Linked DNA regions of Homo sapiens: regions 1, 3, 4, 5 and 6 are each linked to region 2. Evidence: promoter capture Hi-C in human tissues and cell types (Jung and others, 2019). All regions are on one chromosome and are shown on one strand. Each heading gives the region's core, a stretch centred on a gene start or on the middle of the fragment in contact. The rest is flanking DNA. Distances are from core to core; before and after follow the strand shown. Region 1 overlaps TAPT1 (transmembrane anterior posterior transformation 1). Region 2 holds the start of FGFBP2 (fibroblast growth factor binding protein 2). Region 3 overlaps CD38 (CD38 molecule). Region 4 overlaps CD38 (CD38 molecule). Region 5 overlaps TAPT1 (transmembrane anterior posterior transformation 1). Region 6 has its middle 19 kb from the start of CD38.

Region 1 (3,319 bases), core at 223-2,722, 220 kb after region 2:
CAAGAGTCTTGCTTTGTCTCCCAGGCTGGATGCAGCCTCCACCTCCCGGGTTCAAGCAATTCTCCTGTCTCAGCCTCCGGAGTAGCTGGGATTACAGGCATGTGCCACCATGCCCGGCTAATTTTTATATTTTTAGCAGAGACAGGGTTTCACCATGTTGGCCAAGCTGGTCTCCAACTCCTGATCTCAGGTGATCCGCCCATCTTGGCCTCCCAAAGTGTTGGGATTACAGGCGTGAGCCACTGTGCCTGGCCCAAAACAAATTTTAGAAAAGCAGACTATTTCAAAATATGATAGAGATTAATAAAAATGGATAAATTTGGTAAATGAATGCGATTTTATAAGATGAAGGATGTGAAGGATGGCAAGCTTAAAGATTAAAAAGTGACACCATAAAAATTAACTCTATCTTTATTTGATAAGATAAAGATACAAAACTATATCTAACTATAAAAATGAGGCTGTTATGTGAAGATTTTTTGGAAGTTTTATTCTTACACTTTCACAACTTTTACATTTAAATGTTTTACATAGACATTATAAAATCAAGATTTGACTTTTAAAATTTGAGTTAAAAAATACCCAAATTTTAAGTTTCTCCAAAGTAAGATATAAAAAGAAATAAAATTTTTATGAGAATAACAGAGTCTGATACTGATAATCAAACATATATTAGATAAATAATGCAATCAGCAACATATTTATACCATCTCATCTTCAGAATAGTCAGGGTTCGGATTAGAACTGAACTCTTACATTGATTAAAAATTAAAATTTCTAGGAATGTTTTCTCCTAACCTTTATTAAGAAGCTTAAAAACATTGGTATTAATGCTTTTAAAATATTTCTGACATTCAGGTTATTAAGCTTTTTCCTTGCTATATTACCACTAACAGGGATATACTTTAACATACTTGCAGTCACATTTTAAATATAAAATGAGTGACTATTTCCAACAAACATCCACATTTATTGCAGATATGCAGGCTTCTAAGAGTGCTAAGTGAGCTATAAGCTTACTCCAGACAACCTAACTCCTGAAGGACCTTTCTAAATGCACAGTTCACATTACCAATGCGTAAAAAACTACCTAAAATTCTTCATCTCAAGAATGCAAACCAGAAAGGCTGGGGTTCCACATTCAGCTAACGCTTATGTTAAAATGAAGTGAAGAAAAGGATAATTTGTTAAAAATCTGGTTTTGGTAACTAAACTACTTTTCACATGTCCTCAGGCAATTCCTCCAAAGAAAATATACAGTGAGCTACCACTGAAAGGGGTAAAGTTACTCTCAGATTTCTCCATGAAGTCTTCTATATTAAACCAGCATGAAGGACTGAACCTTACACTACGTATCTGGCAACTCAAATTCTGATGGAGAAAAAATTCATAGGAAAATTCATAAGAAAAAAATAGCCGATATGAGTATCCCTCCTGACTGGCTCTCATTAAGTAGCTACTACTGAAGCATATGAAGAAGGCAACATATTCATATAAAGAGTAAAAAGCACCTCTTGGTGACTCCTGATCTTTCCATTTTAATAGCTGAACGTTGCCTAGAATATTTTTTTTCTTACTTGAGAAGGGTCTTAAAATCTGCCTTAGGGTAAAGTTAATTTCTTATAAAACTCTTAAAGGGTACAATGCGGACCACCTTGCATTGTAACATGAGCTACTTTGCTTACAGCAAAAAGTAATTTTTTTTTTGGTGCTAAGTAGTAACCATTTTAAGCCAAAATAAAGTCCAAATTTCTTGTAGACTGATATGCATACCTGATCATTATATCATTTTTTTTCCCAGAGTTTTCTTAAAACTCAAATATTGAATACCTAATCTTTCTAAGCTAAGAGGTTGGAATTCTGGGGAACCCGTTTATAAAAATGAAAAGGGGTATTAATTACATCAACATGCTGGCCATAAGGTTAAAAACATTCACAATTTCCCCCTCATAATTTTGAAGCTTTTATACACAAGGATTGAAAACCTTTAAAACTTAAGATCTGCGTGTCTAGTTTAAGGCTCTATAAAGAGCACTTACCCAAAGGAGGTTACTAATATGAATTAATTTAAAAAAAACATGGTTTCCACAACAAACGAAATTCTTACAGTTGAATCAATTTACTCTATGGTTAACTACTGAAGCAAAGTATTCTATAATTTAGTACCTTCCCTCCTTCCTCTTTCATTTCTAATTCATGACACTTGGCAGTCTGCACTTGAAAGGTGAGCAACATTAATAAGCAGCAAGAATATGAACTGCTTCTCAGAGCCTTGAGAGTCAGGTCCAGCATGGCCTCATAGAATCATCTAGGCTTTATGTTCAAGTTTTCCATTTGTTCTTTTTGTTCCTTGCTTAGTTTTCAAATCTCCTATAACTTGTTTAACATATTCATATGCCATTATTTTCCTTGTCTAATATACAGGTAAAATTTACATACAGTGAAATGCACAGATCTTAAGTACATTATGTGATGAGTTCTGATCAATGCATAACTTGAGACACCAAGCCCTTAATACAGAAAGAAGTTCCATCATCCAGAAAGCTCCTTTGAGTCCCCTTAGTCAATCCAAATGCCCAACAAACAACCTCTTATTCCTATCATCATAAACGAATTTTGTCTGATCATAAACTTCATATAAATGAAATAATACATCATGTACACTTTTGTGTCTGGCTTTTCTGCTCAACATAATGCTTCTGAGACCTACATAGCTGACAATATTAGGAGTTCATTCTTTTATCTTTAATTGCTAAGTAGTATTCTATGGTATGGATATACAGTTTGTTTATTTTCCTACTGATAGCTATTTGGGTTGTTTCCAGTTTTTGGCTAGTATGAACAAAGCTGCCATAATAATTCTTGCAACAAGTCCTACTGAGGAAATATATTTCCTGAATTACAGGGCAGGTGAACATTTAACTGTAAAAGAAATGGCCAAAAACAGCAGTTGTAATACTTTACACTCACGCCATCGATGCCTGAGTGCCAGTTAATCCATATCCTAACTTGTGGCACTGTCAGGCTACAAGAGCAGTCACTCTGGAGGGTGTGCAGTGCTATCTCATTATGGCTTTGTCTTTCTCCAGTGACATTTTCCCTAATAATGCCGAGCAGCTTTTCATGACCTTATTGGACATTTATAGATTTTCTTTTGTGAAATGTCTGTTCAAGCCTTTTCCCCATTTTAAAACTAGATTGTCCTTTCATTATTGATTGGTATAGTTTGTTATATATTCAGAAAACAAACAAACAAAATCTATCGTCAGATATATGCATCTCAAATCTTTTCTCTTAGTACTGTGGCTGGCCTTTTCAC
Region 2 (3,307 bases), core at 671-3,170:
GTTGTGTTTGAATTTTTCAAATGATTTGTATGTCTTATTTGTAGAAAGACCAAAAAAATCACTTTAAAAAGAAAAAAAAAAGGACCTCCTCTCAATAGTAACTTTTTTTGGCTTAAGTGTCCCCTTTTCTCCTCTGGGACAGATCTGAAATCTTAAACAAGCAGAAAACCTCCAGCCCAGAACAGCAGACACCAAAACAACTTTGTTGTGAACCAACATTTCTTGCTGCCTGGGCGCTTGTAGAAAAAGCCTTATTTGTTTGGTGGTATTCGTTATCAAAGTGCTGTTTATCAGGAAATCTGCTTTGTTCCTATTTTTCTTACATAGATAATATGAAAAAAACTCAGAAACTCTCCTTTTAAACTCAAAGTGCACAAGTAAGACTAGAATCCCATGTAAATGAACTCCTTACTGGTGTGCAAAATTAATGAAAGCTGCTACATTTAAGGATAGAGATCAGTAATAAGCCTTATTTCCACAAGAAAAAGTTTGGTCTTTTAAAAGCAATACTTGGAGTTGATTAAATCTGTTATTATTAATTAGATTTTCTCCTCTGTGATGAACAAAAAACAATTAAAGGCTTTGAGAGCTGTGAGAAAGACTTTAAAGACTATTTGACTCAAACTTTCCTCAGTGCACAACACTCCCCACCCTAACTTGACTGTAGGAGAAAAAACTGAGAACAAGACGGGGTGTGGCGACACCTCCACCATGACATAGCACCTCGGCCACTAACAGCTGCAGCAAATGCTTGGTTCATTAGGAAACGTTACCCGGCAGAATTCCAAAGGCCTCGGTCTAACAGTGAGGTGGTTCCATCACAAGGAGATTCTCAACCTTGGCTGCACATTCAAATCACTTGGGGGAGAGTTTTAAAAGTCCACATTCCTGCGCTACTATGTTGGAGACATAGATGGAACGGTCTGGCGAGGGGCCTGGGCATCAGCATTTTTAGAGCTCCTTGTAGGTGATTCCTATGCAACTCCAGGGTCAAGTGCCACTCCGGATGAACTACCTCATCTACACTGCTCTGCAACAGACAGCCTCAAACCCACCCCCAAACACACGCTGAGACTCTGATGTGGTCGCAGCAGCTGTGAAAGTGCTAAGTGCCTCTCACGTAGTCTCTGTATATAAGTATATACACGTAGTCTCTGTATATGAGTAAAGGAAAGGGTATTACCTGTAGGGGTCTTTCACCTGTCACCCTCGGAAGAAGCTGATGAGAAAGGCGCACAGGGCCTGGAAGGGTTTCCAACAATGTTCCCAGGCCTTCTTCTTTGCTTCCTCATTCCCTCCGGGCCTGGGTCCAGGCTGGGTAGGTTTGGCTGTGGGTCGGGTGGTGGGTTTGGCTTTTCCCAGCTCTTCCATCGAGTCCTTTCCCAGCTGTGTTGCTTCTGTGAGTTTCACTGTGGCCTTGGGCCTCAGAGATGGCGTCCCAGCCTCAGGCTGCTGGTTGGGCTCTGGGCTGCCCTTGAGGCTGGAAGTCACCTGCTGCATATGGGCCTGGGGTCCAGCCTCCCTGCACACGGATGGCCTAAGCACCGGGGCCCCCTGGCACGCATGGTGAAGGCGCCTCAGCTCCTGCAGGGCTTGATTCCAGTAAGGTTTGGGGTCAGCAGCGAAAGCCTGGCACATGCTGGGCTGCCCCCTGTACTCACACCAGTAGGTCTGGTCTGTGTTGCGGCAGTCGACACGAAGCCAGACTTCTCCAGCACCTTGCCCCAAGCTGCTGGGACGCATAGTGCAGGAATCTCTCCCTCCAGTCTGGAAATGGAATTCCTCCCCAGTGCTTCCTTGCTTTTGCCTCGGGGCCTGACCCAAAGTCCCCAGGCAGGACAAGGTCACCAGCAGGAGGCAGGGGACGAACTTCATGGCGATACTCCGATAAACTTGCTTGCAACTCTGCACCAGGAGAGAGAACACAAGTGGGACGAGTCACCCTTTAAAGGGTGCTGCACAAAAGACTCTTTCTCTGCAAGGGTGGGGAGGATGTTTTGCAGCAAATGAGAAACATGCCCACAGACCTTAGACACGTAACACTTGGCAAGGGCAGAGCAGCCACCAGGGGCCGCCCACCACAAGCAAAGGGAATGGTTTTCCTGAGTGCCTCAGAGAGATCTGCCCCAGCCCTGTCACGCACAAAGCGCCACACACAGCTTTGGGGCTGAGGGTTTTACAGTTTTCCAACCACAGGGTGCTTGCTCTAAAATTGGCCCTTGTACGGGAACAGCCTTCTTTGTCAACATTTGGTATATGCCAAGGTGTGGCAGTGGTATTCTGGAAAGTGAGGTTTGCAGCTGGGAGTCTGGGCTGCCTCGAGGCTCCCTCCTGCTCCCTGGAATCCCCATCTTGGGGGACCATGGGTTTAGTTAATCCAAAGGAAGCCAGAATTTTATGAGCCTAAGTGTTATGAGATGGCCTAGCAAATGCAAAAAAGACTATGTGAGGTTGTGTGAGGATGTGTGTGCCAGAGGGACACAGAGACACTCCCCCTCCCACCCACCGAGCTGAGAGTCACCTGGTGTGGCCTCTGTGGGGCTGTCCCGCCATCACCGTGGCCACAGGCCACAGTGCTGCAATGTTCACTTCCCTTGTTATTGCATGCCTTACAATTGCACCAACTGAATGATGACGAGGAAGGCATGCAAATATATGTTCACAGTGGGATTCAGTCTATTTTAGACCATGAATTCTATTTCAAATTCAATTGAAATAACACAGTTTTAATTATATCACAGGAAAATATGATTTTAAATATTATTATTATTGTTCTACAATAGAAAAAAAATAAATTGAAAATAACTTTTGATTCTGTGTCAAGAATCATAGTTTGGTATGGTCATAACTGTCTTTTGATGACCCTTCCAGAGGGCACTGTGGAGTGGACTAAAGGTGGCAATTTGCTGTTAGGAATAGGGTTGACGGATGTTGGGGGACTAGTTTGAATGTGAGGGATTTATCTTGGCGATCCCACGTAGGGTAGTTGGTACCTGGCACAGCCTTCCTTCCACCTGGATATCCTGAGTCCTGAGAAGACCTAGTAGGGCTGGAACTAAAGCCAGGCTGAGCTTCGGCAGCCACTGTGTGTGTAGCAGTGAGAGCCTTCCAGAAGAGGGCATCACCCCAGGTGGGGAGCAGAGGAAGCTTCCAAGAAGTGGTGCCAAACCTTCAAGACAAGTCAGTCAATTTGTCAGGTTGAGAAAGGGTAAAGGGCAGGTGTTTTTTTTGTTTGTTTGTTTGTTTGTTTGTTTTGGCCTCATTCTGTCACCTAGACCGGATTGCACTGGTGTAATTATAGCTCACT
Region 3 (3,548 bases), core at 372-2,871, 170 kb before region 2:
TCACGACGCCTTGTCTTTGTACTTCAGGAATGATTACGAATCTTTGTAGGTAAAGCGGCAGAATGCCACGTCCTCTCCTGGTTGCCAGGACGTGTTCCTTGTGGTTTAATTGCCGGGTCTGCCCTGCAGACCCTGGCTGAGCGACAGATGAAAGGAGTACTCAGACACAGGTACGCAGTGAAAGAGCGGCTAGGGGACTGCCGAAGAGTCAGCAGTCTCAATAAACTGGAGCTGCTCACTTTTATTCAGTACAGACATAATGCCGAAAGCCTGGAGCCAACGCAGTCTGTGGGTAATTAACATTGTTGTTCCGCCGTGCAGGGAGCAGTCTCGCCAGAGGATGATGAAAGGTTGGTTTCCGGAAGTAAACAAGCTTATTTAGACAAACTCCCCTACATTCCCTTGTACCCACTCCTCGCCCTCTGCGTCAGGGTAAGAGAACAGCTGCCTTCAGCTTATTCTCCCCCGAAGCTTTGCAGAGCCTTCTGACCTTTCAAAAGGTCTTCTTCTTTCCCTATCGGTTCTCCCACTACTCTGACTGATCTCCTATATTTGATCTCACCTTAACAATCACTTCTTAGAGCTGGGTCAGGAAGTATGCAGCATGCACCTGGCACTCCTAGTACTGTGCCCATGATGGGCATTGCTGATTGTTCAGAGCATATTGGATGAGCCTGGTTCAGCCTCAGAATCTTCCACCCAGTGCACCATGGAGATGCTACCAATTGGTTGGAGTTGCTCTGAGAGGTGACATTTCCTTGTGATTCTGCATTAGAAACATGTTGTTTGTCAGCCGAAACAGGGAAACCTGACACGTTATCCGCCCCCAGGAAGATCCCATCATCATTCCATGCACCTTCAGTCCTGGGAGCTTACTTTAAAAAAAAGTGACTGACATATGAGCGCAGGTCCCCAAACAGAGGGGAGGCAGGATGAGAAGCCAGATGAAGAGAGTCAAGGTCCTGGGGCTGCTTAGCTTGGATGAATCTGATGGGAGGTGGGGTGCATCTGAGTGTTCTCTGCTGATGAAGAACAGACTTGTTGCACGGGGGTAGGTGTGTGCTGTGTAAACACACATCAGAATCAGGACCCCGAATAGTGAATAGGCAAGAGTAACAGCTGAATTTGCCCAGCTCATCACAATTTAACATCAGTTTTCAAAAAGGTAAGAGCGTGGCTTTCATAGCATGCAGAATCAACACACATCAAAGATTGATTTACTCATTTATGAAGGAATCAGCAAAATGACAAACTTAGTTCAGAGAATATTTTGAGGCTCTGAGTAGATATAAAACTGGTTAATGTTTCTCAGGGCAATAAAAAGCTATAAACGTTGGGGATTTCTTTTTTATCAGACAGAAATTATTTGCATACTTAACAGAAAAGATCTCCAAGTTACCATCTAACTTCATAAGGTTCGAATAAAACTTCATAGAGTTATTAATGAATGGTAAATAGAAAAGACAAATATATGTTTTACCAGATAATTAAGTAATTCTTGGTAAACCTGGCAAACAGTACCCCAGTGTGACTCTGAAAAGACATGCTGCCCATCTTTTTGCCTTATTTCCACGTTTTAGGTATTTTTGTAAGATATCTATTCAATAAATATGTATTGAGCTCCTATGATGTCCCAGAAACTCTTTTAGATCCTGGAGATATAGCAGTAAACAAAACAGATGAAATTCTTGCTCACATGGAACTTATATTCTAGTAGGGGAGACAGACATTGAAACAGAAAAATACATAGTATGGCAGATGGTGGAAAGTATTAAAAAGAGTGCTGTGTAGTGTTTACAACTTACTCATTTATGAAGGAATCAGCAAGATGATAAACTCAGTTCAAAGAACATCTTGAGGCACCGAGTACATTTAAAAGTGGTTAGTTTCTCAGGGCGATAAAAAGCCATAAACTTTGGGGATTTCTTTTTTAGGTATGGAAACCTAAAGTAAAGAAGATGCTATGGTTTGCACATTTGTCCCCTCCAAAACTCATGTTTGAAATGTAATCCCAGAAGTGGCAGGATGAGAGATTGGCCCTTTAGGAGGTGACTGGGTCATGAGAGATCTGCCCTCATGAATGGATTAATCCATTCATGGATTACTGATTAATACGCTAATGGGTTAATGGATCAATGGGTTATCCTTGGAATGAAATGGCAGGCTTTACAAGGAGAGGAAAAGGGACTTGAGCTAGCATGCTCACCCTCCTCACCGTGTGATGCCCTGTCCTGCCTCAGGACTCTGCGGAGTTCTGGTAAGCAAGAAGGCTGTCACCAGATGTGTCCCCTAAACCTTGGACTTTTTGGCCTCCATAACTTTAAGGAATAAATTCATTTTTAAAATAAATTACCCAGCTTCAGGTATTCTGCTATAAGCAACAGAAAATGACTAAAACAGGAGGCTTTACTGGAAGGTGTCCTCTTAGCAAAGACCTAAAGAAAGAGGGAGAGTGAAACATAGAAATATCTGGGGAGAACATCCTAGGTAAAAGGAACAGCATGTGCAAAGGCCTTGAAAAGCAGCAAGCCGCTCTCCCTCTCCCTCTCCCTCTCCCTCTCCCTCTCCCTCTCCCTCTCCCTCTCCCCCTCTCCCTCCCCCTCCCCCTCCCTCTCCCTCTCTCTCCACGGTCTCCTTCCACGGTCTCCCTCTGATGCCGAGCCAAAGCTGGACGGTACTGCTGCCATCTCGGCTCACTGCAACCTCCCTGCCTGATTCTCCTGCCTCAGCCTGCCGAGTGCCTGCGCACGCCGCCACGCCTGACTGGTTTTCGTTTTTTTTTTTTGGTGGAGACGGGGTTTTGCTGTGTTGGCCGGGCTGGTCTCCAGCTCCTGACCGCGAGTGATCCGCCGGCCTCGGCCTCCCGAGGTGCCGGGATTGCGGACGGAGTCTCGTTCACTCGGTGCTCGGTGGTGCCCAGGCTGGAGTGCAGTGGCGTGATCTCGGCTCGCTACAACCTCCACCTCCCAGCCGCCTGCCTTGGCCCCCCAAAGTGCCGAGATTGCAGCCTCTGCCCGGCCGCCACCCCGTCTGGGAAGTGAGGAGCGTCTCTGCCTGGCCCCCCATCGTCTGGGATATGAGGAGCCTCTCTGCCTGGCTGCCCAGTCTGGAGGGTGAGGAGCGTCTCTGCCCGGCCGCCATCCCATCTAGGAGGCGAGGAGCGCCTCTTCCCCGCCGCCATCCCATCTAGGAAGTGAGGAGCGTCTCTGCCCGGCCGCCCATCGTCTGAGATGTGGGGAGCACCTCTGCCCCGCCGCCCTGTCTGGGATGTGAGGAGCGCCTCTGCTGGGCCGCAACCCTGTCTGGGAGGTGAGGAGTGTCTCTGCCCGGCCGCCCCGTCTGAGAGGTGAGGAGACCCTCTGCCTGGCAACCGCCCCGTCTGAGAAGTGAGGAGCCCCTCCGTCCGGCGGCCACCCCGTCTGGGAAGTGAGGAGCGTCTCCGCCCGGCAGCCACCCCGTCCGGGAGGGAGGTGGGGGGGGGTCAGCCCCCCGCCCGGCCAGCTGCCCCGTCCGGGAGGTGAGGGGCTCCTCTGCCCGGCCGCCCCTAC
Region 4 (3,478 bases), core at 441-2,940, 130 kb before region 2:
CTTTATCCATTTATCTATTGATGGACATTTAGGTTGTTTCCATATCTTGGCTATTGTGAACAGTGCTGCAATAAACATGGGAGTGCAGATATCTCTTCCATTGACTGATTTTCTTTCTGTTGGGTATATATCCAGCAGTGGCATTGCTGGATCATATAATAGCTCTATTTTTATTTTTTTGAGAAACCTCAAAACTGTTCTCCATAGTGGTTGTACTAATTCACATTCCCACCAACAGTGTACAAGGGTTCCCCTTTCTCCACATCCTCATCATTATTTGTTATTGCCTGACTTTTGGATGAAAGCCATTTTAGCTGGGGTGAGATGATATCTCATGATAGTTTTGATTTGCATTTATCTGATGGTCAATGATTTGAACACATTTTCATATGCCTGTTTGCCATTTGTATGTCTTCTTTTGAGAAATATGTATTCAAATCTTTTGCCCATTTTTAATTGGATTATTAGATTTCTTTCCTATAGAGTTGTTTGAATTACTTATCTATTCTGGTTTTTAATGCCTTCTTGAATGGGTAGTTTGCAAATATTTTCTCCCATTCTGTGGGCTCTCTCTTCACTTTGTTGATTGTTTCCTTTGCTATGCAGAAGCTTTTTAACTTGATGTGATCCTGTTTGTTCATTTTGCTTTCGTTGCCTGTGCTCATGGGGTATTGCTCAATAATTTTTTTTGCCCAGACAAATGTCATGGAGAGTTTCCCCAGTGGTTTCTTGTAGTAGTTTGCAGTAGTTTCATAGTTTGAGGTCTTAGATTTAAATCTTTAATCTATTTTGATTTTATTTTTGTATGTGATTTGAGATAGGGGTCTAGTTTCATTTTTATCCATTGAGCCACTCTGTGCCTTCTGATTGTAGAGTTTAGTCCATTTACATTTGACGTAAATGTTATATTTTTAAGTAAGGACTTACTCCTGCCATTTTGTTACTTGTTTTCTGTTTGTTTTGTGGTCTTCTCTTCCTTCTTTCTTTCCTTTCTGTCTTCCTTTCAGTGGAGGTGATTTTTTCAGTTTCCTGCTTTTTATTTTTTGTGGAACTGTTATATGTTTTTGAGTTTGAAGTTACCATGAGGCTTAAAAATAGTATCTTATATCCCATTATTTTAAGCTGATAACAACTTAACACAGTTTGCATAAAGAAACAAAGACAGCAAACAGAAAGCTAATACAAACTCTATACCTTAACTTCATTCTCCCACTCTAAAACTTTTTGTTGTTTCTATTTATGTCTTATTGTACTTTATATGTCTTGAAAAGTTATTGTAGTTATTATTTCTGATTGGCTCATCATTTAGTTTTTCTACTTAAGACAAGAGTAGTTTACACGTCATAGTTACAGTGTTATAACATTCTGTGGTTTTCTGTGTACTTACTACTGCCAGTGAGTTTTGTACCTTCAGATGATTAAATTGCTCATTAATATCCTTTTCTTTCTAATTGAAGTACTCCCTTTAGCATTTCTTCTAGGACAGGTCTCGTGTTAATTAAATCCCTCACCTTTTGTTTGTCTGGAAAAGTCTGTGTTTCTCCTTCAAGTTTGAAGGATATTTTCACCAGATATACTATTCTAGAGTAAAAACTTTTTTTTTTGTCTTTCAGCACTTCAAATATGTCATGCCACTCTCATCTGGCCTGTAAGGTTTCCACTGAAAAGTCTGCTGCCAGATGTACTGAAACTCCCTTGTATGCTATTTGTTTCTTTTCTCTTGCTGCTTTTAGGATCCTTTCTTTATCTTGGACCTTTGGGAGTTTGATTATCAAATGCTTTGGGGCAGCATTCTTGGGTTAAATCTGCTTGGTGTTCTATAACCTTCTTGTACTTGGGATATTGATATCTTTCTCTAGGTTTGCAAAGTTCTCTGTTATTATTGCTTTGAATAAACTTTCTACCTGTATCTCTTTTTCTACCTCCTCTTTGACACCAATAACTCTTGGATTTGCCCTTTTAAGGCAATTTTCTAGATCCTGCCAGTGTGCTTCATTGTTTTTTATTCTTTTTTCTTTTGTCTCCTCTGACTGTGTATTTTCAAATAGCCTGTCTTCAAGCTCACAAATTCTTTCTTCTGCTTGATCAGTTCTGCTATAAAAAGACTCTGATGCATTCTTCAGTGTGTTATTTGTACTTTTCAGCTCCAGAATTTCTACTTGATTCTTTTTAATTATTTCCATCTCTTTGTTAAATTCATCTGATAGAATTCTTGAATTTCTTTCAGTTTCCTCAACATGGCTATTTTGAATTCTCTGTCTCACATATCTCTGTTTCTTCAGGATTGATCTCTGATGTCTTATTTAATTCATTTGGTGAGGTCATGTATTCCTGGATGGTCTTGATACTTGTAGATATTTTTCTGCATCTAGGCATTGTATTTATTGTAGTCTTTACAACCTGGGCCTGTTTGTACTTGTCCTTGGAAAGGCTTTCCAGATATTTTGAAGGACTCGGATGTTGTGATCTACGTTGTATCTGCTGTAGGGGGCCCTGCAAGCCTAGTAATGCTGTGGGTCTTGTACACACTCATGGAGGTACCACCTTGATGGTCTTGGACAAGATCTAGAAGGATTCTCTGGATTACCAGGCAGAGATTCTTTTTCTAGTCCCTTTACTTTCTCCCAGAGTCTCTCTCTTTCTGTTCTGACCCACATAAAGCTGGTGACACACTCCACCGCAACTAGGACTTTGCTGGGTAAGACTTGAAGCCAGTACAGCACTTGCCCAGGGCCTGCAGTAACCACTTCCTAGCTGCCATCTATATTTGCTCAAGGCTCTGGGGCTCTACAATCAGTAGGTGAGAAAGCCAGCCAGACCCGTGTTCTTCTCTTCAGGTTGGCAAGTTTCCCAAGGCCCTGGGTTGGTCCAGAGGTGCCATCCAGAAGCCAGGGACTAGAGTAAAAAACCTTAGAAGTCTACCTAGTATTGCATTGTACTGTGACTAAGCTGGCATTCAAACCACAAGACACAGTCCTTCCCATGCTGTCTTCCCCTTTTCTAAGGCAAAGGAGCCTCACCTCATGGCCACCACCACCACAGGCCCACAGGGAGTACTGCCAGTGTACTGTTAATATTCCAAGGCCCAAGGACTCTTCAGTCAGCTTGTGGTTAATGCTGCCTGGCCTGGGACTCACCCTTCAAAGCAGTGGGCTCCCCTCTGGCCCAGGGCAGGCCCAGAAATGCTATCCAAGAGCCACATCCTGGAATCAGGGACCCCAAGCCCAGTTGGTGCTCTACCTCTCTGTGGCTGTACCTGAAGCCAGCAAGTCACAGAGTCTCACCCAAGGCCCATGACATACTAATTGGGTATCACTTCTGGTTTTTCAGGGCCCAAGGGCTCTTCAGTTAGTAGGTGATGAATTCTCTCCAGATGTCGTTGTGAAGATAAAAGAGGTTTATTTTCATGAAAACATATATACTTTAAAGCACCTTATGAAATGTATGTCCATTCCACCATCAACATTTTTACCTCTGT
Region 5 (3,812 bases), core at 1,126-3,625, 240 kb after region 2:
TCCTGTGACATTGTAAGTAAACAAAATATTCACTTGTGAAAATTTCTACAACCTGCTCTTATCATATTTATTTTGAACCTAATAGTACTGCACTTAGCATCTGAAAAATACCTGCCTCAAGAGAAATAAACAAGTAAAAACGCCAGCCTCTTTCTGTGGGGAATGAAGCAGGGTTTCTTCACCTTTTAAAAAATCTACGTGTCCCTTTATGACAAAAATCTCCTGCCCTTCTTTTAGCACCATTTGAAATTTCAAAATAAACAAAATGTTATGGCTAAAATGAAAGAAGCATAATGATTTTGCAATATATCTCCTTGAATTACACTAACCATCTTCTGGAAATTCTGAATACCATCTCCTCCACCACAACCACCAAATACCACCTGCTAGTCGAGGATCGCTGGTCTAGGGTGTTAGAAAGTAGGAGTAAAGAGGCTTAGTCTCACTTTTATAAAGCTTGTGCTAAAGCTCTGGGTCTACTCCTGTAAAAGCAGAGACCATATCTTGCTTAATACTGCACTGGGAGGAAAGACATCCTCTCCAGGGAATTCACAACCCAGTGAGCTTGACACAAACCGCATGCTAAGTGCCAGATGAATGATGTGCTCTGGAAACACAGGTGAAGAGCCTGGGTCTGTAAAGCGTGTGTATTTGGGGGCAGGTGAGAGTGGCATGCACACCACAGGGAAGGAGGTGCAAGAGATAGCAGAGATGTCCCACAGAGGAGAGAAGACAGGCACTAGATTTTGCCAGGCAGTAAAGAGGACCGAATTTCAAACCAAGGAAAGAGCATGCACAGGTACAATGTGAGTAGCCTCCTAGTGGTGAGGTTAGGATATAATCATTATGCAAGAGGCATAAAAATCACGTTCAGTTCATTGCTAAGGAGCTCAAATTTTCATTCTTAGGTTCCAAGGTATCCTTGTCTTTTGACTGTTTTCACTTATAGCTCTTTTATTTTAAAGAGGTACCTGAAGATGATTAGGTTATTTTGAAACATGTACATTTTGATAAATCTCTGCTGAGAATGAAGATGTTCTCAATAAACTCACATATAGGGATCAACAATCAGCAGAATGTTAAGGGGAACAGGATATCAATAAGAAAACTATAAATGACTGACTTTGAAAGCAATTACTGCAGATTCAAGGTCATCCCTACAATAAAATCATTTTAATCATCCGAATTAAAAAATTCATGCCCCAGAAAGTCTATACTCTAGGAGATGGCCAACAAAGGGATTATCATGAGCCAAGTTCTCTTACGATAGGCAAGCTATGTAAGCATATGCAGCCATGGAAAACAAGTCAATTGATTTTAATTTGTAGGACTATGCACATAGAATGATCCTGAGACTTTCTTGCTTCTCTTACTTCCAATCCATGTTGAATACTGTTATATTTTAAGCACGTGACCCACATTAACTTGATCCTCACAACAACCCACCAGGCAGGAACTATTACTTGGTATTTTGCTTGCTACAGACAGGGCTTAGACAGGGCTGTGGTGCTCCTGCTGAGAGGCTGGAATGATGCAGCAAGGCAGGAGTGCCCTCAGGGTCCCAGGGCAAGACTGAGTGTCACCTAAGGAACAGAGGTCTTAGCTGCGGCTCTAGGCTCTGATCCTACACCTTCTATCTAGGATGAGATCGACTTTCTAGGGAGTGGTCAGCACGAAGCACCACAGCAGGCTGCAGTGAGCAGAGAGGACAGTACGGAAGGAGAAGAGCCATCAGTGTGAATGATCACAGCAGCCTGACATAGGACAATGGAAAGACAGAGAAGAGAAATTTAAGACTGTTTCCAAAGCTGAAATGAGAGAAATAAGTGATTGATTCACAAAGATAAACATGGCCCCATGGTGCCAAGTTCAAAAATTATCTTTTAAATACATTAATAAATGTGCTAGAGGCCTAAAGGCTTTGCTGGCTTGTCTTAGAACTATCTGATGAGTCTCATATGCCCAACCTCCCCTGAGAAAATTAAGAATGGTAAGACAGTTGCAGAAAGAACGTGGAAGCTGTGGTCACTACCACCACAAGCAGGGTGTGACAAGCCTCGGAGAGAAGGGGAGAAGCACCAGCCAAGGCTGCTGAGATTCTGAGACATGTGGATCCCTACTGGCTTTCCTGCTTCTCAGCAGCCACACAGCAGGGGCTGGGGGACAAGGAGGGGGAACATCTGCACAAGGGTGTGTCACCAGCAAGAGCTGCATTATGAGAAGAATTTAGAGGGATGATTCTCTGAACATGTTTTTATGAAATCAGAAACTGACTAGGATGCCCAAGAAAACACTGCCATAAATATGGGTCTGAGTAAATACTCTCTATTAGTTTCACAATGAAATCCCAGGACTGTTTTACTGAAATAAAGGGGAAACAATAGTCATTACGTTTTCTTAACATATCCTCACACTGACATAAAACAAAAAGGCTTTATATGACATTTGAAGTCCGTTCGTTTGAAATGAACTTTTGGATTATTTTTTCCTAAATGTTAACCCCACCACGACCTTCAAAAAGGCAAAATTAAGTTACTCCACTAGACATTTAAATCTTTCCATCTACCCTCACCATTCCTCACAGGCAAACTCATTCAATGAATCATGCACTATTAGACCTCTTGAGATGACCTAGGTACAACCTTCTAATCATAGAAGAAAGTAAAACCCAAGAGAGATCTGATGCCTTGATCAGGCCTCAGCTATTACAAACAGACTCAAGAAGCTAAGGTTGTTGATGCTTGATTACAAATAATTCCCCTGTATGACAGTAACCCTTCCCCCTTTCAACAATAATAGTCTATGCCTAGTAATAACAATATATCAATACTTACACCTTCAATCTGACAAATTTAAGGCTTATAAAAATTTGCTACATTGGTAAGAAAACTAAGTCATTCTATTTAAGCAGTTGAATTTAATTTTTAGAAAAATGTATTAAATAGCTATAATGTACAAGGCATGGTAACAATGAAATAATGAATTGCCAAAAAGCACAGAATTACAAGGTAAAGAAAAGTCAACAGAATATTTTCATTTTAGTTTAACCAGATATGCAAGCTTACATGAACATATATAAACACGGAAAAGAATATTGCTAAAAGGCTTCATGATAATCCACAACATACATCTGACATATTTAACCCAAGAAATAAATACCATGAGAGGGGAATAAGTAAATCAAATGAAGATTTTAATTTGTAGAATTAAATTATGTAATTGTAGAATTAAATTAGAATTTTAATTGTAGAATTAAATTATATATTAACTATATTCATGGAAGGATCTTGAGCTCTCCCTGCTTGTCTCATTTCCAGTCCATGTTGAATATGACTATACTAATTTTCCAGAAAGAAAGCTCTGACGGATGGCTAACCCAATAACCATTCTCAGTTCTTTTCTGTTTGTTGGAAAAGCCTAACATTCACTGTCCTAGCCTCCTTTGCAGCTGGGAATGGCTATGTAGCTCAGTTTGGACAATAAGACAGAAGTGGAAGTATTCCAGGCCACGTCTGGGAAATCTTTCAATCTTTATAAAAGGCATAGTCAAAAAAGTGGCAATGCCCACCCCATTTCTTTGTTTATAATGCAGATGTAATGCCGAGGTTGCAGCCGTCATCTTTCTACTAGAAGACAACAAGCAAGAGGACCCAAAGCCAATTTGCCAAGGATGGCAAAATAGAAAGATGAAAAGGACTTGGGTCCGTGACAGCTTCATTAATCTGCTGCAACAACTGAGACCTCTTTTCTTCTAGATTTGTTGAAAAAAATAATTTCCTACTTGTTTAAATGACTGTTAGCCAGCTTTTCCA
Region 6 (3,829 bases), core at 649-3,148, 200 kb before region 2:
CATTTGGTTCTCCCTGCACGAACTGCAGTGTATTTTTTTGGGCCCAAGGTCAAATACCAGCTCCACTGTCCTAGTCCTGTGACCTTGGCTGAACAGAATAATGATCCTCCTGTCTATAAAGAGGACAAAAGCACACCCCCACCCCGCCCCGCAGACTGTTCTGAACAGTGGTCCCCTGTTAAAGAAAACTTCTCCTCAACTTCACTCCCTCTTCACCATTTCTTTCCATTAATATTACAGAGAATCCTTTATAGGGAATTTCTTTTAAAAATTTTATTTATTTATTTATTTATTTAGAGAAAGAGTTTTGCTCTTGTTGCCCAGGCTGGAGTGCAATGGCAGGATCTCGGCTCTCTGCAACCTCCATCTCCTGGGTTCGAGTGATTCTCCTGCCTCAACCTCCCAAGTAACTTGGACTACAGGCATGCGCCACCACACCTAGCTAATTTTTGTATTTTTAGTAGAGACAGGGTTTCTCCATGTTGATCAGGCTGGTCTTGAACTCCCGACCTCAGGTGATCCGCCCTCCTCGGCCTCCCAAAGTGCTGGGATTACAGGCATGAGCCACCGCGCCCGGTGGGATTTTCTTAAACATTAAATGTCTAATGTTTTAAAAACCCAATAACATCAGCATTTTTAATAACAATTTTTATTGTAAATTGACAATTTATAATTGTGTATATTTCTGGATACAACGTGATGTTATAATTTATAAATACAATGTAGGATAATTAAATTAAGCTAGTTAACATATCCATCATCTCAAATATTTAGCATTTTTTTTCAACTTTTATTTTAGTTTCAGGGGGTACATGGGCAGGTTTGTTACACAGGCAAATTGTGTGTCACTGGGGTTTGGTATACTAATGATCTTATCACCCAGGTAGTGAGCATAGTACCTGACAGCTGGTTTTTCAGCCGTCCCTCCCCTTCCGCCCTGTCTCCTCTAGTAGTCCCCAGCGTCTATTGTTTCCATCTTTATGTCCATGTGCACTCAATATTTAGCTTTCACTTAAACGTGAGAACATGTGGCATTTGATTTTCTGTTCCTGCATCAATACACTTAGGACAATGGCCTCCATTATCCTAAGCTACATCTTTTGCGGCTGTATCCATGTTGCTGCTAAATATGTGGAATACTATGCAGCCATAAAAAAGAATGAAATCATATCCTTAGCATTTTTTTGTCATGAGAACATTTGAAATTTACTCTCTTAGCAATTTTGAAATGTATGATACTGTTTGTTAACTATATTCACCACACTATGCAATAGATTTCAAAGAAACTTCCATATTCCTTCTGAGATTTTTGTACCTTGTTCATCATCTCCCTAACACCCTCACCCTCTAGCCTCTGTAACCACCAGTTTATTCTCTGGTTCTACGAGTTTGATTGTTTTAGATTCTTCATTTAAGTGAGAATATGCAGTATTATTTAAGATCATTTAATTAAGTTTTAGTATGTATAAAGTATTTGGCGTCAATGCCTACCTATTTCTATGGAATGAAACAGAACAAAACATTTCCCACCTGAACCACAACCTGCATGCTGGTGTTGTCTTCACTGCAGGTGGATTACGGAGCTATGGCCTACACACCTCAGTGCCTTTTGTAGGAAATCATGGCTAAGAGTCAATGCTTGGAATCAGGTGGACAGGCATCAAGTCCCATTTCCACCACACGTATCTGTGTGTCCTCAGTTAAGTTAACTGACCTCTGTCTGCCATAGTCAAAATTCCTAGTTATGTATATCAAAAACTATCTCCTGGTGTATATTACAGAATATTAGGAAGCTCAAGCATCTCAGGGACGGAGAAGGACTAAGGAAAGAGCCAAGAATAACATCCAGATTATACTACTGGTCCACTATGGAGCCCACTACCCAGATTTCTGGGCGAAAGAAGATGGATGTGCTGCTCAAGGGCTGACTGGTAGAACGCCCAGCAGTGGCACCTCTGAAAATGCTGTATTCACCACACTCAAGTTTTCAAATCTGTAAAGCAGGTATAGTAAGAATATTTACCTCATGGGGTTATTATGCAGATTTGATAACACTGTGTATAGAAAGACCCCAGTATGGTGTTTGGCACTTAGTAAATGCTCAGTTAATGTTTCTGCTCCATTTCCTCCTTCATTTTCTTCTACCTTAACTTCTCATCTATTTTCATTTTTCTTCTTTTTTCTTTCTCTAACTTCTTCCTCCTCCTGTTTTTCTCACTTCTTCACTTCTCTTCCATCCCCTTTCTTCTTCCTCATTCCTTATTTCTCTTCCTAAGAGTTGGTAAGAGGCAGCGTATGACTATTCTGCCAATGGAAACCATTTTCCCTGTTTCTGTAACAGGGGGTGTCATGGGGTACAGCACCAAAGAGCTACTATTTAGTTGGATATTACCATAAGTTAATAAAGGCTCAATACCCCGCTTTCTCCTTTACTTCCCCCCTCCACTCCCAGTATTTACCCAGTGGCATCAAATCTGGAATGGGCTATCTTCATATCAGAACCAGGAAAAATGGAAGGGAGTTACACCAGAAACCATAAACCCTATGTGAGGAGGGATTTTGTTTAACATCTTTTTTTGAGATCGAATTTACAAACATAAAATTTATCCTGAAAGTATATGATTTAGTAGTTTTTAGCATATTCAGTTTTGTGACTATCACACAAGTTTAGAACATTCCTCTCAACCCCAAGGAAACCCCATTCCTATTGGGCTGTCACTCCTCATTCCCCAACATGCAGCCCTAGGGAACTTCTAATCTACTTTCCGTCTCTATGGATTTGCCTAGTCTGGATATCTCATGTAAGTGGAATTATACAATATGTTACTTCTTGTGACTAGCTTCTTACACTTGGCATGTTTTTGAGGTACGTCCATGTTGTGGTATGCGTTAGCATTTCATTTTTTTTTTTGGCTCAATAATATTCCGCTGTGTGGGCATATCACATTTTGTTTATCCATTCATCAATTAAGGATATTTGGGTTGTTTCTGTTTATCAATTATTATGATAATGCCTTTATGAACCTTCATGTACATTTCTGTGTGAACATATGTTTTCATATCTCTTGGGTAGATATCCAGGAGTGGAATTTCCAGGTCATGTTCACTCTGCTTAACATTTTGAGGAATTGCCAGATTATTTTCTAAAGTAGCTGAGGGCAGGGATTTTTGTCTGGTTTGTTCATCGCTGATCCAGTGCTGACATATGGTAAACTTAAAACTATTTATTAAATAAATTGAATAAATGAATTAATAGTTGTCTGGTAAAAATATAATTTTTCCTTATATATGTAAGCATGCATAAATAAATATATACTATATATTTATTTATTTATTTATTTATTTTTCGAGATAAGGTCTCTTTTACCCAGGCTGAAGTGCAGTGGTGTGATCTTGGCTTACTGCAGTCTCCACTTCCTGGGCTCAGGTGATCCTCCTACTTCAGCCTCATGAGTAGTGGGGACCACAGGTGTGCACCACCACGCCTAGCTTTTTTTTTTTTTTGGTATTTTTAGTAGAGATGGGGTTTCACCATGTTGCCCAGGCTGGTTTCAAATTCCTGAGTAATCTGCCTGCCTTGGCCTTTCAAAGTGCTGGGATTACAGGTGTGAGCCCCCTGCACCCAGCCAACATATTTTTGTTTAAACATTATGTATGGCATATAGTTTTTTTGTTTTGTTTTGTTTTGTTTTGTTTTTTAAGACAGAGTTTCGCTCTTGTTGCCCAGGCTGGGGTGCTGTGGCACAACCTCAGCTCACCTCAACCCCCGCCTCCCGGGTTCAAGTGATTCTTGTGCCTCAGCCTCCCGAGTAGCTGGGATTACAGGCAT

What was found. The method cuts DNA at HindIII sites, captures the fragments that hold promoters and counts their contacts. A contact is called where the count stands out against the background at its distance.
Region 1: a fragment that was not itself captured here is called in contact with the fragment with the promoter of FGFBP2 in region 2 in 1 of the 25 tissues and cell types used here (H1 embryonic stem cells).
Region 3: a fragment that was not itself captured here is called in contact with the fragment with the promoter of FGFBP2 in region 2 in 1 of the 25 tissues and cell types used here (lymphoblastoid cells).
Region 4: a contact is called between a fragment that was not itself captured here and the fragment with the promoter of FGFBP2 in region 2, in 4 of the 25 tissues and cell types used here (H1 embryonic stem cells, mesenchymal stem cells, small bowel and 1 more).
Region 5: a contact is called between a fragment that was not itself captured here and the fragment with the promoter of FGFBP2 in region 2, in 1 of the 25 tissues and cell types used here (H1 embryonic stem cells).
Region 6: a fragment that was not itself captured here is called in contact with the fragment with the promoter of FGFBP2 in region 2 in 2 of the 25 tissues and cell types used here (heart left ventricle and mesendoderm cells).

Annotation. Positions count from the first base shown.
Region 1 is chr4:16,181,614-16,184,932 of GRCh38, forward strand. The region is part of intron 7 of TAPT1 (transmembrane anterior posterior transformation 1); the gene reads right to left. Among named protein-coding and RNA genes, the nearest start is that of TAPT1, 43 kb to the right of the region's middle. The HindIII fragment of the contact is 3,708 bases long and covers 1-3,319 here.
Region 2 is chr4:15,961,255-15,964,561 of GRCh38, forward strand. FGFBP2 (fibroblast growth factor binding protein 2) reads right to left here and starts at 1,921. Exons shown (of 2, transcript NM_031950.4): 1 at 1,184-1,921. The coding sequence starts at 1,875. The coding sequence ends at 1,204. RefSeq lists an enhancer at 1,951-2,792. The HindIII fragment of the contact is 18,537 bases long and covers 1-3,307 here.
Region 3 is chr4:15,787,573-15,791,120 of GRCh38, forward strand. The region is part of intron 1 of CD38 (CD38 molecule); the gene reads left to right. Among named protein-coding and RNA genes, the nearest start is that of CD38, 11 kb to the left of the region's middle. The HindIII fragment of the contact is 4,271 bases long and covers 1-3,548 here.
Region 4 is chr4:15,829,975-15,833,452 of GRCh38, forward strand. The region is part of intron 3 of CD38 (CD38 molecule); the gene reads left to right. Among named protein-coding and RNA genes, the nearest start is that of CD38, 53 kb to the left of the region's middle. The HindIII fragment of the contact is 8,209 bases long and covers 1-3,478 here.
Region 5 is chr4:16,204,949-16,208,760 of GRCh38, forward strand. The region is part of intron 2 of TAPT1 (transmembrane anterior posterior transformation 1); the gene reads right to left. Among named protein-coding and RNA genes, the nearest start is that of TAPT1, 20 kb to the right of the region's middle. RefSeq lists a silencer at 858-907. The HindIII fragment of the contact is 4,909 bases long and covers 1-3,812 here.
Region 6 is chr4:15,757,363-15,761,191 of GRCh38, forward strand. It overlaps a transcript of BST1 not described here. Among named protein-coding and RNA genes, the nearest start is that of CD38, 19 kb to the right of the region's middle. The HindIII fragment of the contact is 5,413 bases long and covers 1-3,829 here.